Linked DNA regions of Homo sapiens: region 1 is linked to region 2. The links are contacts of gene promoters, found by promoter capture Hi-C in human tissues and cell types (Jung and others, 2019). All regions are on one chromosome and are shown on one strand. Each heading gives the region's core, a stretch centred on a gene start or on the middle of the fragment in contact. The rest is flanking DNA. Distances are from core to core; before and after follow the strand shown. Region 1 overlaps GDPGP1 (GDP-D-glucose phosphorylase 1). Region 2 holds the start of IQGAP1 (IQ motif containing GTPase activating protein 1).

Region 1 (5,728 bases), core at 3,229-5,728, 150 kb after region 2:
TTTTTTTGAGACAAAGTCTCTCTCTGCCGCCCAGGCTGGAGTGCAGTGGCGCGATCTCGGCTCACTGCCACCTCCGCCTCCCAGGTCCAAGCGATTCTCCTGCCTCAGCCTCCTGAGTAGCTGGGACTATAGATGTGCACCCACACCCAGCTAATTTTTGTGTTTTTAGTAGAGACGGGGTTTCACCATGTTGGCCAGGCTGGTCTTGAACTCCTGACCTTGTGATCTGCCTGCTTCAGCCTCCCAAAGTGCTGGGATTACAGGCGTGAGCCACCGCACCTGGCCTAAACTGTTTTTCTTATAAAATGGGCTATGGACACATATTCTGCTTTATCACAGGGAGACTTTGTAACATCATTTGGGATGTAAAACCTCTAATGAAAACTGGAAACTAAGGCTTTATACAGGCCTAGGTATAGGGAGCCAACGACCTGAAGGCCTAAGCCAGGGCTAGGACCCACAGTTTGGGAGGCAGAGAAATCAAAACCCCTCCTGGGTGAGCCCACTCAGACAGCAGCCAGAACCCACCTGTGTGAGCCCCCTTTCACCCTTACGCTGTGAACAGGGACTCTCATTCCTTCAGGATGTTTGATGAAGGAGTGGTGGCGGTGATAATCTCTGTTGAGAGCTGGACCCAAGACTTTATGTATTTATTTATTTTGAGACTGAGTCTCGCACTATCGCCCAGGCTGGAGTACAGTCGTGCAATCTCAGCTCACTGCAACCTCCGCCTCCTGGGTTCAAGTGATTCTCCTGCCTCAGCCTCCCAAGTAGATGGGATTACAGGTGGCCGCCACAACGCCTAATTTTTGTATTTTTAGTAGAGATGGGGTTTCACCATGTTGGCCAGGCTGGTCTCGAACTCCTGACAAGTGATTTGCCTGCCTCGGCTTCCCAAAGTGCTAGGATTAAAGGTGTGAGCCAACGTGCCCAGCCAACCCAAGACTTCTTTTACTTTTGCTGTATAACATTCAAGGGAGCTAAAAGGAAAATGAGATTTCACACCCACATACTCTCTTAGAATAGTGTCTACTGACTAGTTCCTCTGGAACCAGTGTGAAATGTCTGGAGAAACAGGACAGAACAAAGCAATGAGATAAAAAAAAATTTCCCACATTGACTCAGATGCAGACGGAGGAACAACGACTTAGCTTTGGATTTTGTGTCTACATCAAGAGGAGCTTCTAAAGTGCTTGGGAAAGACCCCAAGAGGGATGGCTGAGGCTCAGGGAGGGCAAACTGTTAAGGACAGTGCTACCCACCATGGGAACCACTGACTGGAGAGGCGGTCACAAGCACACATTGTCCCAGCTCATCTTCTGGTACCTGCCTGTGCTGCAGTCCCGACTCCAGCTGCCTGACCTTGAACAAAGTACAAACTGTCAGTCTCCATCCCGTTTTGAATGGGGGTATTAAGAAGACTCAGGCTGAATTGCTTGAACCCAGGAGGCAGAGACGCAGTGAGCCGAGATCACACCACTGCACTCCAGCCTGGGCAACAGAGTGAAACTCTGATTCAAGAAAAAAAAAAAAAAACTCAGGCCAGGTGCAGTGGCTCATGCCTATAATCTCAGCACTTTGGGAGGCTGAGGTGGGAGGATCTTGAGGCCAGGAGTTCGAGACCAGCCTGGGCAACTTGGCAAGATGCTATCTCTCCAAAAAAATAGCCGGGTGTGGTGGCGCATGCCTGTGGTCCCAGCTACTAGGGAGGCTGAGATGGGAGTATTGTTTGAGCCCAGGAGGTTGAAGCTTGCAGTTAGCTGTCTTCATACCACTGCACTCCAGCCTGGGTGACAGTGACCCTGTGTCAAAAAAAAAAAAAAAAAAAAAAAAAAAAAACCTGCACCAAGGTGTGGTGGCATCTTAGCACTCTGGGAGGCCGAGGTGGGAGGATTTCTTAAGGCCAGGAGTTTGACAGCAACCCGGGCAACATAGCAAGACCCTATCTCTACAAAAAATTTAAAAATTAGCCAGGTGTGATGGTGCACACCTATCGTCCCAGCTACTCAGGGGGCTGAGGTGGGAGGGTGGCTTGAGACCAAGAGTTTGGGTCTGCAGTGAGCTGTGATTGCACCACTGCACCCCAGCCTTACAAAAAAACAAAACAAAAAAAGACGTGCACCCGGAAAGTTGTGACAACACTGTGTTTTTACATCAGATGATGTCAGTGAAGAGCATTCAACTTGGTGTTGGGGGCTAGAGGAAAGCTCAAGGTGGCAGGGAAAGTGAAGGAGTGGGGCATTTGGGTGGAGCAGGGCTAAATGGAAAGAAGGGACAAAGCAATAAAAATAAGTGGTGAGCAAAGGGGAATAAACAGGCTGAGAACAGAAGTGGCAGCTCAATACTGGAGGCACAGGCACTATTACCGTGCTAACATTTGATATCAAAGGAAGACAAAATCTAAATGTAAAGTCAGGAGTGTGTAACTGTCACACACACTCCTTTTTAACACCCCTGGGGCTTGAACAAGAACGGGGAGAGGTAGCAGATACATTCATGATGTCTTACTCAGTAGAATTATTCCAGATTTTCTCCCCTTTAAAGAGACCACTATCAGCTCCCCTTTAAAGAGACCATTATCTTTCTCCCCTTTAAGAGATCATTATCAGCTTTCTTCATCCTTCTTCTTAGGCTGAGACAGGTGAGAAGGCAGCCATGAAAATAAATGTCCAAAGGACTATGATGGACAGTGCTCTGGAAAGGGACTCATCAGGTAGAAAATGAATACATCCTGGCTGGGTGTGGTGGCTCACGCCTGTAATCCCAGCACTTTGGGAGGCCGAGGCGGGCGGATCACCTAAAGTCAGGAGTTCAAGACCAGCCTAGCCAATGTGGTGAAACCCCTTCTCTTTTAAAAATACAAAAAAATTAGCCGGGTTTGGTGGCAGGAGCCTGTATAGTCCCAGCTACTCGGGAGGCTGAGCCAGGAGGATCACTCGAACCCTAGAGGTGGAGGTTGCAGTGAGCCGAGATTGTACCAGTGCACCCCAACCTAGGTGACAGAGCGAGACTATCTCAAAAAAAAAAAAAAAAAAAAAAAAAAAAAAAGAAACAGAAAAGAATCCAGGGGCTCACTCCTGTCATCTCAGTACTTTGGGAGGCCGAGGTGGGAGGACTGCTTCAGCCCAAGAGTTCAAGACCAGCCTGGGCAACATGGTGAAACGCTGTCTATATAAAAAAATACAAAATCACCTAATCGTTAAAAAAAAAAAAAAAAAAAAAAAAAGCCAGGTGTGTGGTGGTGCACGCCTATAGTCTCAGCTACTCAAGAGGCTGAGGTGGGAGGATCACTTCAGCCCCAGAGGTGGAGGCTACAGTGAGCCAGGATCATACCACTACACTCTAGCCTGGGGACAGAGTGAGACCCTATCTCAAAAGAAAAGAAAAAAAGAACATAAATACATCCAGAAGTATTATTGCTCTTCCTGGGACATCAGGGCCACCAGTGCTGCCTGTACGTCTTCTGCCTGGGATGGGGGCAGCCGACAGTCCTGAATGAGGGCCACAGCAGCTGCCTCTGTCAGGCTGCTGAAGTCCTGGGATGTTTTGACAGGGAGGTGCCCAGCCAGCTCACAGAGGGCAACATTGAAAGCTTCACCGTCCTTTATCCCAAAGCTGGACTTCCGGGCCCACAGAATTACTCGGACCCCTGTGAGGGCTGAGGAAGGTGATGTCTTTCCCGGCGGAGCTCCCCGGGTGACAAACAAGTTATGAGCAATCTCATGGTCAGTCAGATAATCAGTGGCCCGACATACCCTGCTTATCAAGGACTCCAAGTCAGGCCCTGGCCCACGAGTGTAAAAGAGGAAGCCAGGAGCTGGGAGGTCCTGGAGCAGATGCAAATGGCCTCCAGGGTCCAGGGGCTCGCTTGGCGCCTGCTCCACGGGCAGTCTGTGGGCCAGGTAATAGCCATGCAGGTGGAGGTGGTTCACCGAGGCCAAGCCTCCCAGGCTGTTGAAGCCGACACGGAAGCCCGGGTGTAAGCTCAGCAGCACAGCCTCAATCCCTGCCCTCAGTGCACCCGGCAGCAGGCGCTGGGGGAGCTGGCGGGCAGGCTCAGGCACCAGCAGCACGTGGCCCCACTCCAGGGGGCTGACGTTGATCACCACCAGGATGTCTTCTTGCAGCAGAGTCCCAGGGAGATCAGGCTCCCGGTGCAAACGGAAGAGGACTTCTCCGGGCCGGATCTTGTTGAAGTTGAACTGTACAGGGTCAAATGCCTGCCTCACACTCTTGATGGTCTGCGGGGGCCTCCTCTGCACACCACGCTCCACATTCAGCTGAGCCACGAAACCCACAGCACCAGGGAGGATTTGGGTCTGTAGCTCCCGTAGACGGTAGCGAAACAGCCCCAGCTCCACCCGCTGCTTCCAGGCAGAGCAGAGTGCAGCATCAAAGGGAGATTGTGGCAGAGCATCTGGGATGCCAGGTGCATTCCTTGGCCACTGAATCCCTTCTGCCATGAGATCCTTCTGCCCATAAACAAAGTCAGGAATGGTTTGCCTGCCCCAGTCCTCATTGTTGGGAGGCAGCAAATAGGAAGTTTCGTTTGAATCATGTGGAAGAGCCATAGAGCTGACCTGAAATAGTCATAAAAGATGAAAACACATGATGGTAACCCACCTCCAGAGATTGTCATTGTATTTATTTATTTATTTTTTTTTTTGAGATGGAGTCTCACTCTGTCACCCAGGCTGGAGTGCAGTGGCAGTGATCTTGGTTCACTGTAACCTCCGCCTCCTGGGTTCAAGCGGTTCTCCCGCCTCAGCCTCCTGGGCAGCTGGGGTTACAGGCAGGCACCACCATGCCCGGGTAATTTTTGTATTTTTAGTAGAGATGGTGTTTCACCATGTTGGCCAGGCTGGTCTTGAACTCCTGACATCGGGTGATCCCTTTGCCTTGGCCTCCCAAAGTGCTGGGATTACAGGCATGAACCAACATGCACAGCTTATTTATTTATTTTTATTTTTTTGAGACAGAGTCTCACTCTGTTGCCCAGGCTAGAGGGCAGTGGCGCGATCTTGGCTCACTGCAACCTCCACCTCCTGGGTTCAAGTGATTCTCATGCCTCAGCCTCCCAAGCAGCTGGAATTACAGGCACCCGCCACCAGGCCCGGCTAATTTTTGTATTTTTAGTAGAGGCAGGGTTTCACCACATTGGCCAGGCCGGTCTTGAACTCCTGACCTCCGGTGACCCTCCCCTCTCGGCTTCCCAAAGTGCTGGGATTACAGGCCTGAGCCACTGCACCTGGCCTATTTATTTATTTATCACTCTGTCACCCAGGCTGGAGTGCAATGGCGCTATCTTGGCTCACTGCAACCTCTACCTCCCAGGTTCAAGCGATTCTCTGGCCTCAGCCTCCCAAGTAGCTGGGATTATAGGAATGTGCCACCACAGCCAGCTAATTTTGTATTTTTGGTAGAGACAGGGTTTCACCATGTTGGTCTGGCTGGTCTTGAACTCCTGACCTCAGGTGATCCACCCACCTCGGCTTCCCAAAGTGCTGGGATTACAGGTGTGAGCCACTGCGCCCAGCCACGGCCTATTTTATTTTGAAACAGGTTCTCACTCTGTCACCCAGGCAGGAGTGCAGTGGTGCATACATGTCTCCCTGAAGCCTTGACCTCCCAGGCTCAAGGGATTCTTTCACCTCAGCATCCCAAGTATCTGGAACTACAGGCATGTGCCACCAGGCACTGCCGAGATCGCACCATTGCAGTCCAGCCT
Region 2 (5,190 bases), core at 370-2,869:
ACCTCAGCCCCAAGCAGCTGGGACCACAGGCATGGGCCACCACGCCTGGCTAATTTTTTTTTTTTTTTTTAAGAGATGGAGTCTCACTGTGCTGCCCAGGCTGGTCTCAAACTCAAGGCCTCAAACTATCCTCTCACCTCGGACTCCCAAAGTGCTGGGATTACACGCAGGAGTCACTATGCCTGGCCACCTGTCAAACTTTCTACACAGCATTCTTCAAGGCTCTGTTCAAATGTCACCTTCAGGCCAGGTGCAGTGGCTCACACTTTGGGAGGTCGAGGCGTGGGGATCATTTGAGATCAGGAGTTTGAGACCAGCCTGACCAACACAGTGAAACCCTGTCTCTACTAAAAATACAAAAATTAGCCAGTGTGGTGGCCGACGCCTGTACTCGGGAGACTGCAGGAGAATCGCTTGAACCTGGGAGGTGGAGTTTGCAGTGAGCTGAGATTGCACCACTGAACTCCAGGCTGGGCGACCAGAGCAAGACCCCCTGTCTCCAAAAAAAAAAAAAAAAAAGTCACCTCCCGTGCTCATACTGTCTTCCCCAGGCCCCTTCTCCTTACCTACATTACTCTGTATGGCTAGTAAGTTCAGCATCTTTTATCATTATTGCACCTTATAATCATTAGCTTGCACACCTGACTCTCTGATTAAAACGCTCTTTGGAGACAGGGCCTGATCTTACTCATCTTTAATTTCACAAACGTGGCACAATACCTCACGTATAACTGTTGATGCGTGAAATGTTGATCCTTTAAAAAAGAACATTATTCCCACAATATAAAATAAAACCGAAAACCTCAAAATCCCAAAGGGTCCTCCTTTAGCCAATCCTGCCTGCAGTTCAATGACGTCCAGGGCCGACAACAGAAAATGAGGAAGTCAGAGGATTTTCTGCTTCTTTTTTTTTTCTTTATTACTATTTTACTTTTGAAATCTTGAGGAGGGAACTAAGCCCGAGAAAACTGAAGTGACTTGCCCAGGACGGCACCTCGTAGCTAGCCTGGGACCGGACAGGTCTGGACCCTGGTCTATCCCTTGGGTCTACCCCGCAGGCAACACTAGGGCAGCGCCTTTCCACGAAACGGGCAGAGCCCGCGTACCCAGACCCCCAATCCCCGGGACACGCCCTGCGCGGTCATCCTGCCACCTCACTCTAGGCCGTCTTCCCCAATCTCGGCCGAGCCTGGGCGGCGAGAGGCGCTGGGTGGGGCTCCCCCTACCGCGGCCCCAGCTAAGGCGGGAGGCCTCGGGGGTCCTCTCCGCCGCCTCGGACCCCGAGGGGGCGCGAACCAGGGGCCTCCCCGCCCGCCGCCCGCCGCCCCACCGGGACGGCTCTTCCGGGTCCGAGCTGCCGGCAGCCGCCCTGCCCCACCCGCCCGGCCGAGCCCCCAGGAAAATCGCGCCTCGTCTGCAATTAGCCCAGCCCGAAGCCCCCGCGCCGCGGAGCCCCGCACTCACAGCCATAGTGCGGCCGGGCCACGCCCAGCCCGTCAACCTCGTCTGCGGCGGACATGGCGGACGAGCCCGAGTCTCTGCTGAGGAAGCCGTGAAACCTTGGAGGCGCGGACGGCGGTAGCTACAGCTCCTGCCAAGTGCGCGGGCTTGCCGGGGTCCCCGAGGCCCCGCCCCGTGCCGTCAGCCCCACCCCGCAGGCCCCGCCCCAGCGGCACCGCCCCAGCGACACCGCCCTGAGCGGCCGGAAAGAGGCGGGGCCAGAGTCACCGTGCCCCGCCCCTAACTCCGCCCCCTCAGCCCGGCCCCGCCCTGCATCCCGCTATGGTCTCCGTAGGCGGAAGGAAGAAGGTAGAGCCCATCCTCCAATCGGGCTCACGCTGAGCTTGCCCTGCCGGGAATGCCCGCCCAGGTTTATAGCCCCGCCCCCAAGGCCACTGCCCTATCCGCAACTCTAACCGAAAGGCTGCCGGTGTCTGCTGCCTGAAATCAAAATAGTGGGTCATCTCCCTTCTCTTGCCGGCCCAGCTAACCTCTGCACCAATATTTGGAGAAGACACCCTTTGAGGTGACCCAGGTTGTCTTGTTGGACACAAGCAGGCCCCAAACTGCCATGAAAGCCCTCCAACCCCACTCTCCGCAGTTTGGCAACCTGGCCTCAGTCCTCTTAGATTCGGCAGCAGTCACCAGATTACCCAGGTACCCAGGTATTTGAGATGCGGATGCTAAAGCCGAACTCTGTCCAAATTCCCTACCTTTGGATCCCTTGACATTGTTCTTTGCAAGTTCTTTTTAAAATAACTCTTTTCCCGTATCAGGGATGCCTCTGCCCCCTGCACCTTGTGGCTTGCCCTTCAGATATTGGTATTCAACGGTATTCTGTCCGCAGCCCTCTTCTGTTTATTCTTTTTTCTTTTCTTTCTTTCTTTTTTTTTATTTTCTTTTTTTTTTGAGACGGAGTCTCGCTCTGTCGCCCAGGCTGGAGTGCAGTGGCGCGATCCGGGCTCACTGCAAGCTCCGCCTCCCGGGTTCGCGCCATTCTCCTGCCTCAGCCTCCCGAGTAGCTGAGTCTACAGGCACCCGCCACCGCGCCCGGCTAAGTTTTTGTATTTTTAGTAGAGACGGGGTTTCACCGTGTTAGCCAGGATGGTCTCGATCTCCTGACCTCGTGATCCACCCGCCTCGGCCTCCCACAGTGCTGGGATTACAGGCGTGAGCCACCGCGCCCGGCATTTTTTTTTTTTTTTTTTTTTTGAGACGGAGTTTTGCTCAGTCGTTCAGGCTGGAGTGCAGTGGCGCGATCTCGGCTCACTGCAACCTCCGCCTCCCGGGTTCAAGCGACTCTCCCGCCTCAGCCTCCCAAGTAGCTGGGATTATAGGTGCCCGCCACCACGCCCAACTACTTTTTTTGTATTTTTAGTAGAGGCAGGGTTTCACCATGTTGATCAGGCTGGTCTCGAACTCCTGACCTCAGGTAATCCACCCGCTTCTGCTTCCCAAAGTGCTGAGATTACAGGTGTGAGCCACCGCGCCCGGCCCTCTTCCGTTTATTCTTTGCCTACTCAGTAATCTTTTCTACACTCGCCTATAACTGCTGAGGACCCCTCGATATGTATCACCAGACCAGATCGTCTGGAAGTCCCTCAGTATTTTCAGCTAATGAACACTTTCACCTGTGTATAGGGCAGACACTTCAAATCCCACGTGTCAAATACTGACCCTGCTCCTGCTATATTCTCTATTCACAGAAGTACTCAATTCCCAGTGGGAACACCCCAGGCTCCTTGCCTCGCACCCTACATCCAATCTGTGTTTATTTCTGAGATGTCTACTTTTGTCTCCATCCCTGTTGTGATTACACTGTAGTCGCCCTTCTGCCAACTAGATCCTCACAGTTATCAGGGTGTTCTCTCTAAAGTGCAAATGCAATTGTGTTTCTCTTTTTAAATTTTTTTTTCTATTCCTCCCTTCAAGATAATGGGCCAAGTTCAGCATGATTTAGCATGCCAAATCATAGCCTGACTCCAGATGTTTTGCTCCAGCTATTTTCAATGTATTCACTCTTCCTTCAGACTATTAAAGATACTTGAAAACCTGTAAGAACAAAACACCCCTGTAGAAAAGTGGGCAAGGGTTTCATTTATTAAGCCTACAAAGTAAAAAGTTATTTCATTCTTAAGCTTTTAAGTTCACTTTACAAATTGTATTATTCTATTTATAAGTCTAGCACATTTTACCAAACACTTTTCAGAAACTGAATGATTTATTTATTTCGGAGGCGGGGGGGTCACATTTTTATTGGGGGCCACAGGGGACATGGTCTTCTCCATGTCAATGGAAGTGCTTGCAGTTTCTTCAACCACTCCATGCTTGGGCCTTGGGGGTGGCTGGGCATGTCCAGCATGTTCCCATCATCTCGGAGGGGCACTGGGTTGTTGTGGGGCGTGGCCTAGTTGATCCTGGTGGAGTACATGGTATAGGGGCAGACTGGGGTCAGATTTATAGCTAGGCCCCCGATGGTGAGGAACAGGACCAGCACCCGCTCCTTAGGCCAGGCATTCTTGAGAAAGGCAGCCGCAATGGCAACGAGGACATAGAGCATTCTGAAATTTCCTGAAAATTTTTTTTTAAGTCTCACTCAGTTAATTCAACATCTTCAAATATTTAAAATTATGCCTACTAGGGCAGGCACAGTGGCTCACACCTGTAATCCGAGCACTTTGGGAGGTCAAGGTGGGTGGATCACCTTAGGTCAGGAGTTCGAGAGCAGCCTGGCCAACATGGTGAAACCCCCGTCTCTACTAAAATACAAAAAAATTAGCTTAGTATGGTGACACACGCCTGTAGTCCCAGCTACTCGGGAGGCTAAGGCAGGAGAATCACTTGAACCCAGGAGGCAGAGGTTGCAGTGAGCCGAGATTGTGCTCCTGCAATCCAGCCTGGTTGACGGAGCGAGACTGTCTTTTAAAAAATAATAATAATTGCCGGGCACGGTGGCTCACGCCTGTAATCCTAGCACTTTCGGAGGCCGAGGTGGGCGAATCACGAGGTCAGGATATTGAGACCATCCAGGCTAACACGGTGAAACCCCAGCTCTATTAAAAACACAAAAAAAAAAAAAATTAGCCGGGCATGGTGGCGGGCACCTGTATTCCAGCTACTCGGGAGGCTGAGGCAGGAGAATGGCGTGAACCCTGGAGGCGGAGCTTGCAGTGAGCCAAGATCATGCCTCTGCACTCTAGCCTAGGCAATAGAGCGAGACTCCATCTCAAAAAAATAAATAAATAAAAATAAAAAATAATAATAAAGAATAAATTGTGCCTATTATATTGTCTATATTAGATTTCCTATTACATTTTCTTTTTTTTTTTCTTTTGAGATGGAGTTTCACTCTTGTCACCCAGGCTGGAGTGCAATGGTGCAATCTCAGCTCACTGCAACCTCCGCCTCCCGGGTTCAAGGGATTCTTCTGCCTCAGCCTCCCAAGTGGCTGGAATTACAGGCACCCGCCACCACACCTGGCTAATTTTATATATATATATATTTTTTTATTAGAGATGGGGTTTCACTATATTGGCCAGGCTGGTCTCAAACTCCTGACCTTGTGATCCACTGGCCTCGGCCTCCCAAAGTGCTAAGATTACAGGCATGAGCCACCGCACCTGGCCTAGATTTTCTTTTTAGTTCATTCAATCGTATAAAACTTTTTCAAAACTTTTTTTTTTTTTTGAG

What was found. Contacts are between HindIII fragments. The study calls those that stand out against the background at their distance.
Region 1: a fragment that was not itself captured here is called in contact with the fragment with the promoter of IQGAP1 in region 2 in 1 of the 25 tissues and cell types used here (dorsolateral prefrontal cortex).

Annotation. Positions count from the first base shown.
Region 1 is chr15:90,239,752-90,245,479 of GRCh38, reverse strand. It overlaps GDPGP1 (GDP-D-glucose phosphorylase 1), which reads right to left. Exons shown (of 4, transcript NM_001013657.3): 4 at 1-4,580. The coding sequence starts at 4,571. The coding sequence ends at 3,414. It also overlaps a transcript of CIB1 not described here. Among named protein-coding and RNA genes, the nearest start is that of TTLL13, 6.9 kb to the left of the region's middle. The HindIII fragment of the contact is 7,306 bases long and covers 826-5,728 here.
Region 2 is chr15:90,384,671-90,389,860 of GRCh38, reverse strand. It overlaps IQGAP1 (IQ motif containing GTPase activating protein 1), which reads right to left and starts at 1,619. Exons shown (of 38, transcript NM_003870.4): 1 at 1,465-1,619. The coding sequence starts at 1,519. It also overlaps the pseudogene NDUFA3P4. RefSeq lists a silencer at 1,116-1,895. The HindIII fragment of the contact is 9,768 bases long and covers 1-4,620 here.